Regions from separate parts of the Homo sapiens genome. Here region 1 is linked to region 2. Evidence: promoter capture Hi-C in 16 types of primary human blood cells and fetal thymus (Javierre and others, 2016). All regions are on one chromosome and are shown on one strand. Each heading gives the region's core, a stretch centred on a gene start or on the middle of the fragment in contact. The rest is flanking DNA. Distances are from core to core; before and after follow the strand shown. Region 1 holds the start of MS4A1 (membrane spanning 4-domains A1). Region 2 overlaps LOC105369321 (a long non-coding RNA gene).

What was found. The method cuts DNA at HindIII sites, captures the fragments that hold promoters and counts their contacts. A CHiCAGO score of 5 or more calls a contact.
Region 1: a contact is called between the fragment with the promoter of MS4A1 here and a fragment that was not itself captured in region 2, in 3 of 17 cell types (total B cells, naive B cells and M2 macrophages). The highest score is 8.1, in total B cells.

The regions. Positions count from the first base shown.
Region 1 is chr11:60,453,875-60,460,906 of GRCh38, reverse strand. MS4A1 (membrane spanning 4-domains A1) reads right to left here and starts at 5,060. Exons shown (of 8, transcript NM_152866.3): 1 at 4,962-5,060. RefSeq lists an enhancer at 2,872-2,981. The HindIII fragment of the contact is 9,401 bases long and covers 3,960-7,032 here.
Region 2 is chr11:60,608,195-60,615,013 of GRCh38, reverse strand. It overlaps LOC105369321 (a long non-coding RNA gene), which reads left to right. Exons shown (of 6, transcript XR_001748240.2): 5 at 3,607-3,770; 6 at 6,550-6,719. It also overlaps the pseudogene MS4A19P. Among named protein-coding and RNA genes, the nearest start is that of LINC00301, 4.1 kb to the left of the region's middle. The HindIII fragment of the contact is 7,080 bases long and covers 1-5,729 here.

The DNA of each region.
Region 1 (7,032 bases), core at 3,811-6,310, 160 kb after region 2:
GTACCCCTCTCTGAGATGTAAGACATAAATAAGTTAACATATGTAATTGTGCCTAGGACAAAGGGAGAGTGTAGTAAATGCTATTTATCAGTTTTCATGATTTATTCATTTCTGAAGTGAGAAGGCAATTAATACGGCCCTTTCCAGCTCAGACATTTTAAGATTCTGTTCAATCTTCATCTTGGGTTTCCTTAGCATTCACTTGTTCATGTTAACCACTTATGCGGACTCCACTGGGTCTTTCCTGGAATCTGAAAATCCCTCTTTTGGGGACACATCTTTGCTCTTGTCTTTATTGCTTGTAAGTCATGTAAGATGTCTTGGAAATCAAGACTGTCTATCCAGGTCACATATCTTACTGAAGCCGGTGCCACATCCCAGCCATTAGACCACAGCCTGAAGTATATCTTACTGAAGTCAATCAGAGCTGAGTAGCTGCAGGTGTGCTGTAAAACAGGCAGCTGACTACTGTCACATTTATACCTACTTTAGGGCTGGAAGTAAATTTGACACATGGCATCTCATCTGAGCCTTATAGAACAGGCAAGGGGTGAATCATCACCTGTGTTTTATAGAAGAGGAAACAAGGGCACGGAGAAGCTAGGTTACTTGTGCCAAGTTACATAATTAGTAAATATTTTTTGTTTGTTTGTTTGTTTTCATGACAGGGCCTCGCTCTGTCGCCCAGGCTGCAGTGCAGTGTCATGATCACAGCTCACTGCAGCCTCTACCTCCTGGGCTCAGGTGATCCTTCTGCCTCAGCCACTGGAGTAGCTGGGACCACGGGCAACCACCACCATACTCAGCTAATTTTTATATTTTTTTTAGAGATGGGGTCTTGCCATGTTGCCCAGGCTGGTCTTGAACTCCTGGACTCAAGCAATCTGCCCCCCTCCACCTCCCAAAGTGCTAGGATAACAGCTGTGAGCCACCATGCCCAGCCTGTAAAGATTTAAAATGAAGACTTGGATCTCTCAAATTAGGCATCCAGGGTACCAGGCTGCTTTGTCTCCTGTGAGAAATAGGAATTCAGCCTTTCCCTTATGACCCCTCTTTTCTCCTTCCAATATATGCACTATGTGAATGACTATAAATCAGTTGAAAAGTATTATCTGTCTGGCGCATGGGCTAGAGGAAAGAGAGAAGAAACTTTGGTTGTTTCTCACTTGATTTTGCCCCTGCCCTAGATAGCCAGATGCCACATGGTCCTGGGGATCTGCTTTGTACAACAAGCCACTCTACAAGACCTCTAACAAAAACAGATATTTTAATATAGCCCACTAAAGAGTTTGCGGACTGATTCTGGTCACTAGGTAGGATTTCTAGAGCTAGTCCAAACCTCAGAAACCATTCTGTTCATTTCACAAATGAGGAAGCTGCAGTCTGGGTATAGAATTTGCCTTAGTAAAGACCTCACAGTTAGCAACAGAGCCAAGCTAGAAGGCACTCACCATGGCTCTGATGTTGATGCTTTTTCTGCTGTACCATAGGTGAGTCCAGATAATTATAGTTGTTTACTGAGCACCTACTATATACTAGAGATATTGTATATGGTATTGCCAACTCACTCAACACCTTCGTAAGTAGGCATTTTGACTACTTTCTGCAGATGAAGAAATGGAGGTTGAGAGAGGTTATTTTTCCCAAGGTCCTATGGCAAGTATGGAATGAGCTGGGAGTCACTACACTCCGCCCCAGAGGGGTAACTTTAGTGAAGATAACTTAAAATGCAAAGGTCATCAATTGTTTGAACTGAAGGAGATGATTGGACTGCCATTGTTTTAATTTCATTTTATTCATCAACTGCTTGATTAAAGCTGTGTCTGTATTATTGGCGAGATAAACTTTTTTGTAAGCCAATTCTACTTGGGCTATGCCTGTTGTAACTAATGGCAATAATGACCATGAGGGCTGTGTGTGTGTGTGTGTGATATTTCTCTGTTAAAATGGTATCTCATGGTGGCAACTATACTTCTACAAACCTTAAACAAATATTTGTATAAAATAGTAGTTTATAAAGAAACACATGAGTGCTTTCTCTGTTTTTTTATTTCTTATGGAAACTATCTTTCATATATATATCTGATTATATATATATCTGTCTCATATATGAGAGGTAAATATATTAATCGATTTATGGCATTGTGGGCTGACTGTAATGAAAAGCTTTCGTTCCATGAGAATTCATAAATACATAAAACTCGCCTACGGAGATTGGAGATTCTCGCAATTTTGCCTTATCATTAAAATAAATTGTTCACAATGACTTAGTGCCCAATGCACAGTTATGCTCAAAGACTAGTTGGTAGATTAGTAGGGGTTATGGACCACATTAGCCGCAATATGATAACAATAAGATTTTACATTTGCTGGTGTCCAAATCAGCATGAATGTTAAAATAGAGACTCAGGTGATCACTCAGTACCGCATTTAATTACTCACACTAACTCCTGCAAATATTTTTTTATTTTTAAAGGCACCCCTGTTTTCATGTCCATCCACTGAATAAGATCTCACAGCCTTTATGGGTTTTGGTTTGAATAGACTTTTAAGTCCACTCGTACCATCATGTACTGAGAAGTTTAAAAACTGCCTCACTGTTGTTACCTCATCTTCATTCTCTTCCACTCAAAATAGTTTTGCATTTTTATCCCTTCTGGCCTCCTGTGCACCTATCTCCGAGGAAGAGTGCTCTTACTTCCCTTCCCTCTGTGCTTTTCAGCCCATCTCAGTCCAACCAAGCTGTTAGCCCTTCCAAGAAATTATTTCTTCTTTGCACCTTCAGTCTCCCAATTTCTGGCAATATGTAGCAGACAGAGTTAGTCCCAGCTCTCTTGCTTGCTCCTCTTGTGGTCTCTCTGTAAGTTTAAGGTAATAGTTACCTTCCCCATTTCAAAGTATCATTTTGAGAATATGAGATAAGTTGCATTTGTTAAGGTGCTAAATACTCCTTTTATGACTAAAATGTACTTCAGTGTCCCTGAATCCCAAAGTCCTCTTCTTTTAATCTAGCAATGTCCTTGCCCACTGCCCAGGCTCACTTTTTCTTCACCGCAGCTGCTTCAAAGCTTTGCTACCCACTCTCTTCCCCCACCTCCTCTCCACCCACTCACTTCTCAATGCTTGGCAACTAGTTTCCGCCAGTCAGTGGACTGAAACTGGTCTTTGAGGACTGTGCTGTGAAGTCAGTGGTCTTTTCTCAGGCCTCGTGTCTCAGATTGTTTTATTTGTTTCTCCTGCCACCCAGGCTTAGATAGTTGGGACCACATTTCACTTTAGCTCCATCATCTCTCAGTCCATCTTCATCTTGGCTGTTGGTCAGTCAGTGGCCAAGTCATGCCATTTCTACCTCTGCAATACATTTTGCATGTGGGTCTTTTTTCTATATCCAGAGTCACCTGTGAGTTTCTCATTTCCATTCATGCTTTTCTGCCTTCAGTCTTTCTCTTTTCTAATCCATTGTCCACAAGGCTGCTACATCAAGCTCCCGATCACTGTTTTGAGTGATGCTCTTCCTGAGCCTGAACTCCTTTGCTGGCCTGTCATTACCTGCTGGAGAAACCCTTCATCTAACCCCTCAAGGCCTTTGGAATTCAGCCCTGTATGACTTCCCAAGCTCATATCCCACTACCGCCACCAGAGCCACTGGTCTATACATGTCCTCTACCTTCTTTCCTGAATCTTCTCAACTTTGAAGTGTTCCTTCTCCCTCCCTCTTTACTTTCAATCAAACTCTGCATTAGATATGCACATCACCTGAGGGCGTTCCTGCTCTCCTTGCCTGATTGCAAGGAATTCTTCAGAGCTCCTAGCTCTTTGCTTTCCTTACTAGACATCAACTACTTTCTTCGGAGAATCCTGTATCCTACTAGACTTGCATAGGGAACCTGTTTTCTATGTACTATGAGCTCAGTTACATTAAGCTGAACATCAAACTCAGCTACTTCCTCAGGGAAGCTTAACAAGTGCTCACAATGGCCAGGTGCAGTGGCTCACACCTGTAATCCCAGCACTTTGGGAAGCCGAGGCAGGTGGATCCCCTGAGGTCGGGAGCTCGAGACCAGCCTGGCCAACATGGAGAAACCTTGTCTCCACTAAAAAATGAACAAACAAACAAAACACACACACAAAAATGCTCACAATGCTGGATTAAACATTTCTTTCCACCGGATTCTCAGTGAGATTAAGCCATTTTATGGGAAACAGGGAAAGGGAATCACTTATATACTGGATTCAGAAAACAGTAATGGCATGATTAAAATTAATCCTTGTTTTCCTTCATTAGAGCTCCCCCACATCTGCAGCGCCCCCTCTTACTCTTGGTTTCCCATGTGATAGATTTGAGGCAGGATTTCATGCTCAACTTGGTGTCCACAAATCCCCTCCAGAAAATGTTAGCCTGTAAAGCCACCTATACTTCTAGGTATATTTACATTTAATGTAGACAAAAGCATTTACAGGAAGACAAATGGAGTTTTTTTCATTATGCCTATGACTGATTATTTTCTCATTTGGTATTGGGAAGTCCTAAGGGATTCAGGATTTTAGTTCCAATTTTCCTAATGTAATGGGTACCATTGCCCCCATTTTATAGATGAGGAAGCTGAGGCTTTAGAGGTTTAGTAATTTGCCCAAGGTTATATTGTTTGTTAGTGGTAGAGCTCCAGTTTGAACCCAATGGTTTAGAAACCATGATTTAATATATATGCTGCAATCTACTACTTTTGTGGAATGATTCACAGTTGACTGCATAGGGTAATTGTTGAGAGGGAGACTGATTAGAGGAGTGAGTGGGCAGCAAGCCTTGATATCGTCACCCCTCCTTAAGTCATAGAACTATTAGGAAGTCTGACTAGGGAAACTCTAGAATTAAGATCAAGAACCTCCAGTCTTCAAAACCATTCTATACCTTATCCATCACCTCCTTTAAGTCATTTAAAGAAAGCAAATTGATTCCTTACCTGAGTCTCCAAGGCCTCAAATCTCAAGGGCTGATTTGGATGCTAGCTGCGGAGTTCAGTGGGTGCAGTTTGTTTCTCAAGCACACTGGGAGGGTGAGTGGTGTAGTCCAGGCCTGAAGATGAAATCGCTGATAGACATCAGGTGACAGGAAATCAGTAGCTTCTGCTACCTTGGGCTTCGCTCCAATTACTTTGGTTTAACACTTACCATAGCTGAAGGAGGTGCAAAAAAAGTTTCTGCCTTACCAGGTTTCACTTCTTGAAAAAGACCCCAGGGGACTGCCTGGCATGCTCATGCTACCTTAATTAGAAGAACTTCTGCAGCCCCCACCCTATAAGCAGGTGTGGATGGTAGGTCCCTGAGGACAAGAAAGATTCTAGAAGTTGGTCAAAGATGGGCCGTTAGCACTGACTTTTACCTTCTGGCTTCACTTTTAGGGCTGAGTAGGTGGGCAGGAGGCATCCATGCAGAGATTCAAGAATCACTGAGGCTGTACACTTGGCAGCACTATACTTAGGGGTCCCCAAATATTGTCCTCATTGGCTCACACTTAAGTTTCTTATGAACCATGTATATATCTTGTGTCAGATTTAGCAGAAATGGCCTAAAATTATACTTTAGTGCCATAGTACATGTACCCAGCCACTCAAAGCAAGAATTAGCCTCCATATTTGGAAATATAAATTGAAATAGCACTTTTACCTCTGAACCCACCTTTTTCTTCTGTCTGTCAAGTTCCCTTGTGTCCCCTCTCTTTTTAGTCTAGTCTGGAGCTGCAGGGTCATCAAGCACAGTACTAGATCAAGTAGGGAAATGGAAGAAGTTGGTAGTGTCAGGAGAGTCTAAATATTTGGGATGTGAATCAAAGTTTTGCCCAAAGATAATGTCCTCTCTCTCCCCCTACAATATTCAACTTTTATGTTCATATGTGGGATTTTTAATTACATTTTTATTTCCCTGTTCATTGCTTCATTTTATTAGAGACACAGAGCTATAGTTAGGTAATTATTTGTTTATTTAATCTAAAGGGATGAAATATGGCAGGCAGCTCTGTTGCCTAATTCGAGGTTCATTCCTGTCTCTCTCTTTCATCTCTTCTCTCTTTCTCTTTCTGCCTCTCTTTTTAAATTTAAGATAGTTTGGAACCATAGGGTTAGATCCACTGGGTAGAAGTAGTTCTGGGGAGGCTGATTGTGGTGTGATATTTAAAAAGATGCCACTCTAAAAAAAAAAATTGTTGGAGCCGTTCATTAGGGGAACTGGCTACCATTTCAATAGAGAATTTACTTCTTCAAGAATACTCAAGTAAAGTCATGCAGTCACCTCTCAGAGATGCTGTAGAGTGAAGGAGAGTGGGAACAGAAGATCCATCATCCATTTAACATTCTAATTGAGGGTCTATGCATATCTGCTGAAATGCTTGAGTGATTGGTGATGGGAGGACAATTACCTAGGGTCTGAGTTGTGGATGATTGTGAAACCTGAGGTTTGAGTCCTGGATGGTGGGGTGGTTAGAGGCATGTGCCTTCATTTTAGTTGGCATGGGAACAGGGTCAGGACTTGGCAAATGTATGGCAGCAAAGGGGCTTGAGTTGTGGCAGCACAACCTGGTCTTTTGCATCCTTTTCTCTGTTTGAGCCCTGTATTTCCCCAGTCAGTCTCAGGTTGTTTGCTACTTTGTGGCCAATGAGATAACTTAGGTGGCTCTATGTATGATTCTTCCCAAATAAACTTGAATTTGAATTTGTATGAATGCATAAACATTTACCTTGTCTTTGCTCATTTGAATGATCAACATTTTAGTGCTTGAGTGTGTTGAAATTCTCACTACAATTTGGACTTGTCAATAGCATCTTATTTGATGTATCACCATCACTCTTCCCCCAAGGTTTGAGAATATTTTATTAGGTTGATAACATATTTAAAATATTTCTCTTTGAATTAAGCCTATTTTCATTATCTAGTGACCTTGCTTCCAAAAGACAATCTTAAAGTCTACATAAAAGTATGCCAACTTTTATTTAGTTAGTATTTTCCTGATGTGAATTTCCTTTTTATTCTCTGCACGTC
Region 2 (6,819 bases), core at 940-3,439:
ATGTGCTAGGCATTGTTCTCAATGCTGGGGATACTGTAGTGAACAAAACAGATGAAATTCTAATAATAAGGAAAACAATAATAAGATTCATAAGGAAAATTTATAGCATGTTAAGAATAATGAGAGCTAAGGAGAATAATAAAGTATGAAAGGGAGGTGGCGTCAATGGAAATGTAAATGAGGGGAGTCAGGAAAGTCCTCATTACAAAAAAAACTTGCACACAAATGTTCATAGGAGCATTCTTATATATTCCTAATAGCCAAAAATGAAAACAACCCAAATCCCTATCAACTCATGAATGAACAAACAATATTTGGTATATCCATATAATGTATTATTTGATAATGAAACACAACAAAGTTATAGTTTATGCTACAGCATGAATAAGCCTTGGAATCATTACGGTAAGTGAAAGAAGCAAGTCACAAAAGACGTTCATATAAAATAGCCCTGGTAGGCAAATCCACAGAGACAGAAAGTAGACCAGTGATTTGCTAATACTGAGGTAAGTGGGTGGAGAATAAGAATTACTCCTAATGGGTTTGGGTCCAAAATTAGGTGGTGTTACTTACACAACTCTGTGAATATACTAAAAGCCACTAAACTATATACTTTAAATAGGTAAATTTCAGGCTGGGCACAGTCGCTCACGCCTGTAATCCCAGCACTTTGGGAGGCGGAGGCGGGCAGATCACGAGGTCAGGAGATCAAGACCATCCTGGCTCTACTAAAAATACAAAAAATTAGTCAGGCATGGTGGCGGGTGCCTGTAGTCCCAGCTACTTGGGAGGCTGAGGCAGGAGAATGGTGTGAACCCAGGAGGCATAGCTTTCACTGAGCTGAGATTGCGCCACTGCACTCCAGCCTGGGCAACAGAGCGAGACCCCATCTCAAAAACAAACAAAGAAACAAAAAAACCCACAAATAAATAGGTAAATTTTATAATATGTGAATTATATCTCAATGAAACTGTTACAAAAATGAAAGGCAAGATGTGTGCTTTATCTCTTTACTTATGAAATTTTGAAATAATGAACACCCTCCAAGGGTGACTATGATTCTTTTTCTTTTTTTTTTTATGGGGGAAGGAGAGATTGGCCTTTTAAATTTTTATGTATTTGCTTTGTTGACCAGTGCATGGTCCATATAGTGTCACTGACTTCCTCTCCCTAGAATATAAGCTCCCTGAAGGCAGGATCTTGTCTCTTCTGTTTAAATCTGTTGCCAGAAGCAAGAATTATGCCTGGTGCAAAGTAGATTGTCAAAAAGTAGTTTATGATGAATGTATGAATAAATGGAGGAGCTACCCTATATTTACATTTGCGGCTCATTCTCTCCGGTATCTCAATTGTGATATCCTGCTCTGTGATCAAAAACAAATATCTTTCAGATCTGCCATGTCATGACTCCCTATCTAGAGCTGTTCTTTGTGTTAAACTAGCTCAGGCTCTGAAGCTGGGACCTTGTTCAAGGATGCATGTAAATGGGGTCAAAGATTGGGGCTGCAGTTGCACCTGGTCTCCACTTGCAGGGCAGACTCCCTTGGTGCTGGGTTGATTAGCTAGGAGGAAGGGGCCTCAATTTCTAATTGTACTGTTCAGAGGGGACTTACCTTCTATTTCATTTTCCCAGAGGAGCTGTTATTAAGCAATCTGTCCTTTTGAACGGGGTACTTTTGTCTAGTTTGCACAAAGGCATCTTAGGTGTTAGCAGCCCCTTTTCAGATTATTGGCCCCCAATCTCTACATTTCTTTCAAAATTTCTGGCATCATATCCTTCCTCATTCAGCCTGGATCCCACAGATCCACTAATTATCATCTTATTAAAACCCACAAATGCAAGTTTGCCACCTTGTAATGCCACCTTTTCTGTGTAGGATATTTTAGGGAAACTCTCACAATGGCATGGATAGACACCCAACAAAGATGTCATCTGAAAGTCCAGTATCTTCATCTGTGCTTCTAATTAAATCGTTGAGTATAATTTGGCCAATTTTGCCTCTGATTCCTGGCAACTCTTAATCCAAACAAGTACTTTATTCATTACCACCCCTCACTCCTAAATGACTGCCTTGTCAATTTTTTCAAAGGAAAGACAAAGTCTCTCATGTTCTTTCTTATCCTTCTCATATGGAGGAATGGATAAAGAACATTTACATTAAAGCTAATTTTTCACTATTTTCTTACTTGATCAGAATTAGGTGTCTTTCCTCTATTCTAAAGTGTAATCTGTCCCTGTGCTACTAATCTCATGTCCTTCAAAGGGCTTATAAACCTTAATCCATCAATTATCTCTTTCTCCCCAGTATATTCAAATATTACTCCCTGCTTTGTATTTCTTCTCAACCCATACATTTATGCAAGTCTCTCTCACAGTTGTGGTTTTTAGTTCATGAAGGTAGACCAAGCAGATGCTACTTATTCTTCATATGAACTCCAATTCCAAGGAGCACACTTACAAAAAAAATTCCATTGCCACATTGAAAAATAAGAAGCAACTCTCTTGGTGAACCAGAATCTGTGAATTCCTAAGAGAACAAAAGTATACAGACTAGACTGAAGAAAAACACACAATAATAAAGGACCTGCAACAGAAGACTGTTCTAAATGGTGGAAATTTTTGCACTTCATAAACAAATGGCATATATGTAAATAACACAGATACTCTAATCTTGAATTTGTATCCCCCCAAATTACTTAAGGGGCAAGATGGGGGGAACCCAGTTGCCCATTTCTGGGACAGCGAATGTATAAATGTGCGGGGTGCATGGCACAGACTTTAGGCAGCATTTAAAATCAACTGATAGAGGTACTGATAGCCACACGGATAGATCTTTAAAACTTACTGTTAGGAGGAGCAAAGTTTGTGCATGTAATTTATGGGTGTGTATGAACTTCATGGATTCCAGATACATTCCTACAATAGAATGCCATACATTTTTGGGGAGATACTGACAAATAAAATATGCATGTTTTATAAAGTGGAACAATTGCTCATGGAGGGAGGGAAGGGGGAGTGGGGTATGGAGATCAAAGAAAATTTAAAAAATAGGAAGCATCCTTATAGACACAACAAAACATTTCTAAGATAATTTGCTTAAAATTTGAGTGTGATAAGCCACAGTGTAAAATTATAGGCAAAAATATGTAACGTTTTGGGAGCTGGACTTTCTAGACAAACTAAATCCAGTAGCTATTAATTCATGTAGTCTCAATAACATAAAGATATGGCTAATTGTAATATACCTTCTTCACTGTAGGTAAGCTATGCATGTTTTAATAATATCCAGTGAGAAAGAAATAATTAGTAGTATTTAGAGCTAATAAGCAAAGAAGCCTTCACAAGCAATGGGATTATTTATCATTTATGCGAAGTCTCCTTCTCACAATGAAATAATTTTCTCGAGTTAGCATTTATTACATCATTATCAATTTTAGGTATAGATTCTACTCTAGTAACATGTGCCCATTCATAGAACTTCTCTTGTATGGAAGAATCCCTTAACTCAGGCTGACCATATTCAAACTGAGATAAATTCATGCACAGTTCCTCATGTAGACAAAAATAACCATATTCATCAATTTTAATTTTTATTAATGAAATAGGGGGAAGAGAATACTGAGATGGATTTAATGAAATTACATTTTCCAAGAAGCCTCTTGAACAGAATGAAGTTCTTCATTTGCCACTAAACTTTCCTCCTTGACTGAGCTCACTGATGGTTTCTTTAATATGCAGAGAAAGGATCTCCTTCTGCCATGAACCTGAGGTAAGTTAGATATCAGTAAATTGATCATTAGCACACTCTAAAATAAAGAACTATAGAATTTGGGTTAGAATTTTGGAAATAATTCTAATAGAAGTATTCTCCTCATTGAGATTTTTATTTTATTTATTTTTTTAGAGATGAGGTCTCTGTCACCCAGCCTGGAATGCAGTGGCACTATCATTGCTCACTGTAACTCTGAATTCCTGGGCACAAGCCCTCCTTCCACCTTCCCCTCCTAAGTAGCTAAGGACTGCAGGGATGTGCCACCACTCCTGGGTAATTTTTTCAACTTTATGCATTTTATTTTATTTTATTTTACTTTACTTTACTATTTTATTTTATTTTATTTTATTTTATTTTATTTTATTTTATTTTATTTTATTTTATATTTTTGTAGAGATGGGGTCTCATTGTGTTCCCCAGGCTGGTCTCAAAATCCTGAGCTCAAGCAATTCCCCTGCTTTAGCCTCTCAAAGTGCTGGAATTATGGGTGTGAACCACCCCACCAGGCGAGATTTTTAAATTAAACCATGTGCTTTTGATACTTTTTAGTTTTTTTCTTTGTCCTCTCTCCCTTTCTCCCTGGTTTCCATCCTCCCTTCTTTTTTGTTTCTATAGATTGAAAGCCAAAGACAATGCTATATGAAAAGACAGTCCCCAAGACAATGATTGATCATAAAGGGCATATTGTTTTCTACTCAAACTTGATTACATTATTAAGTATAGCATTGAATAGCTGTCAGTTTAAATTCTATTTAGTTGGAGTAGAAATCTATATGTTCTTATATACCCAATCCATGTTTGTTCTCTTTTCACTTTATTCAGAGAAGAATTAAGAATAAGACCTCTGTGAGTGTGTGTGTGTGTGTGTGTGTGTGTGTGTGTGTGTGTTTGGTGTGTTTTGTTTACTTTGCTTTTAGTTAGAGCCATATTTTTTTGAGATTTCGAGTTTGAATACCTTTAGATGGAACTTCAGCTCCCCATTTTAATACCTTACTTAAAGAAGATTCATTGAAAGGCAATCAGTGATCCAGATAACAGGTTTTCAATACCCTAATTCATCTGGAATTATAGCTAATTCACATGTTTTGAAAAGCAAGTGACTTTTGCAGTACAAATGAAGATGTAGCCTCTGAGTGTCAAGAGAAAGTGGGAAATACAAGAAAAGAAATCTATATGATAAATTCCTCTCCCTCCTAATTCATTTTATCAGTTTAATTCAAAATAGAGATTCCTAAACAAAGCTATTTACAAATTAAGATGGTAAACTTAACAAGGCATATTTATGGAATGATAAGTAAATTGGTGAGGCTGGAGCACAGCATTTATGGGCGTGAGTGGTAGGAAATGAAGTCAAGAAAGTAGATTGGGCTAAATTATTACAGAAATGAATGTTGTGCTAGAATATCAGGCTTTCGTGTGGTAAGTGTTTCCTGTTTAAACTTTCATTTGGGGAGATGAAGAAACAGAGGACAGAATTGAAATACATTTAGGGGATCATGTAAAAAGGATTGTCAAATTGTTTCAATTTGAGAGTATTTCTCAGCTCCCTCGCCAGGGCAGGCAGGTAGATAGATGGTGGTGCTCTTAAATGGAAAAGACAAGGTAATGACTTTGTGGGTGAGATGATTAGTTCAGTTTTAGATATGTTTTATTTGAGGTGCTTTGGAATCCTTCGAATCAAACTCTCTAGAGAGAAGTTGGCAATATGAGCCTAGAGCTCAGTAGAAAGGTCTAGGGTGGAGATTTAACATTTGGATTATTATAAATTTATAGATGGTATACATCTACCAAGCTGTAGGTATATATGGTGTTGCCTATACAAAAACTATAGAGGTACAGTTGGAAAAGTCAAGGGACAGAACAGCAACCTGAAGAGATTAAGTAAGACCCAGGTAAGAAGGCAGGTCAAAGGGTCAAACAGATGAGATTAGAAAGTGGTAAAATGGGGAGGAAGCTTAAATTTCCTAAACCTTTCTACACATGTGGTCTAGGATATATGGACAACTCACTTTCTTCTTTGTGTTAACTGTGGTCTCCTTCTCAGTTGTTTTTATGATCTCATAGATCTCTAAGCCTCGGCCTGTTGAGTGGGTACTGGGGAAAAAGGGCAGGCATATCTTTCACTGAAGTTCTCTGATTTAGTGAGATTGAAGTTCTCTGATTTAGTGAGGTCAAATGGAGGTTAAGTTTTCCTTTAGACGTGAAGTAGTTGATATGGAGAAAGTAGGAAAATAGCTTTATTGAAAAAAGGCTTTACCATCTTTTTCAACTTCTCCATTACTCCCAAATCTTGGTTTCTGAAGACACTAAAGTTCTACACTTAGATATTCAACTTGTTCTCCCAAATTTTGAGAAATAAAGGCTTCAGTCTTCAGTAGTCCCATATCCCCGTGCCTGGTAACAACTTCTACAAAGCTTTTTGTTTCCAGGGTAATGTCTGTAGAATTAAACAGACCTGAGCCAGAAAATCACATATCTTCTACCTTATTCTCTCATATGTTATGGACATAAAAGCATCCTGTAATGCAAAACACCTTTATAAAAGGGAAAATTATTTATTCAGTTGTGGAGGGACCCATATAAGTGCATGACAGTTAGTGCCGAGTGTTTTCAGCTATCTACAATCACAGCTTAGTGATGGCATTATTTATACTTAATTCATATCAAAACCTTAGTTATTCAAATAGTGTTCATAACAGAAGACAACATCTTCTGATCTACTAAGGGAAAAATGGGATACTCACTGCATCTTTATCTTCTTCTCTTTTTTGCTTAGGATGCCCAGTGGCTGACTATACTTGCCACAAACAACTCCAAGATGGTTAATATGAACAGATATTCCGAAAGGAGTTTGCCACTTTTCTGTATCCACAAAGAAAATGTACATTCCTTACAGATCTTTCTATGTGAGCACTTTAGAAATAATAAAGGTATCTTAAAATTGAAGAAGAAAAATAGAAGAGAAAAACTACCCACCCTATCCTCCACCCTCAACAATAGAATTTTAAATATTTTTTAATTGTAATTACAATGGATAATTATTGAG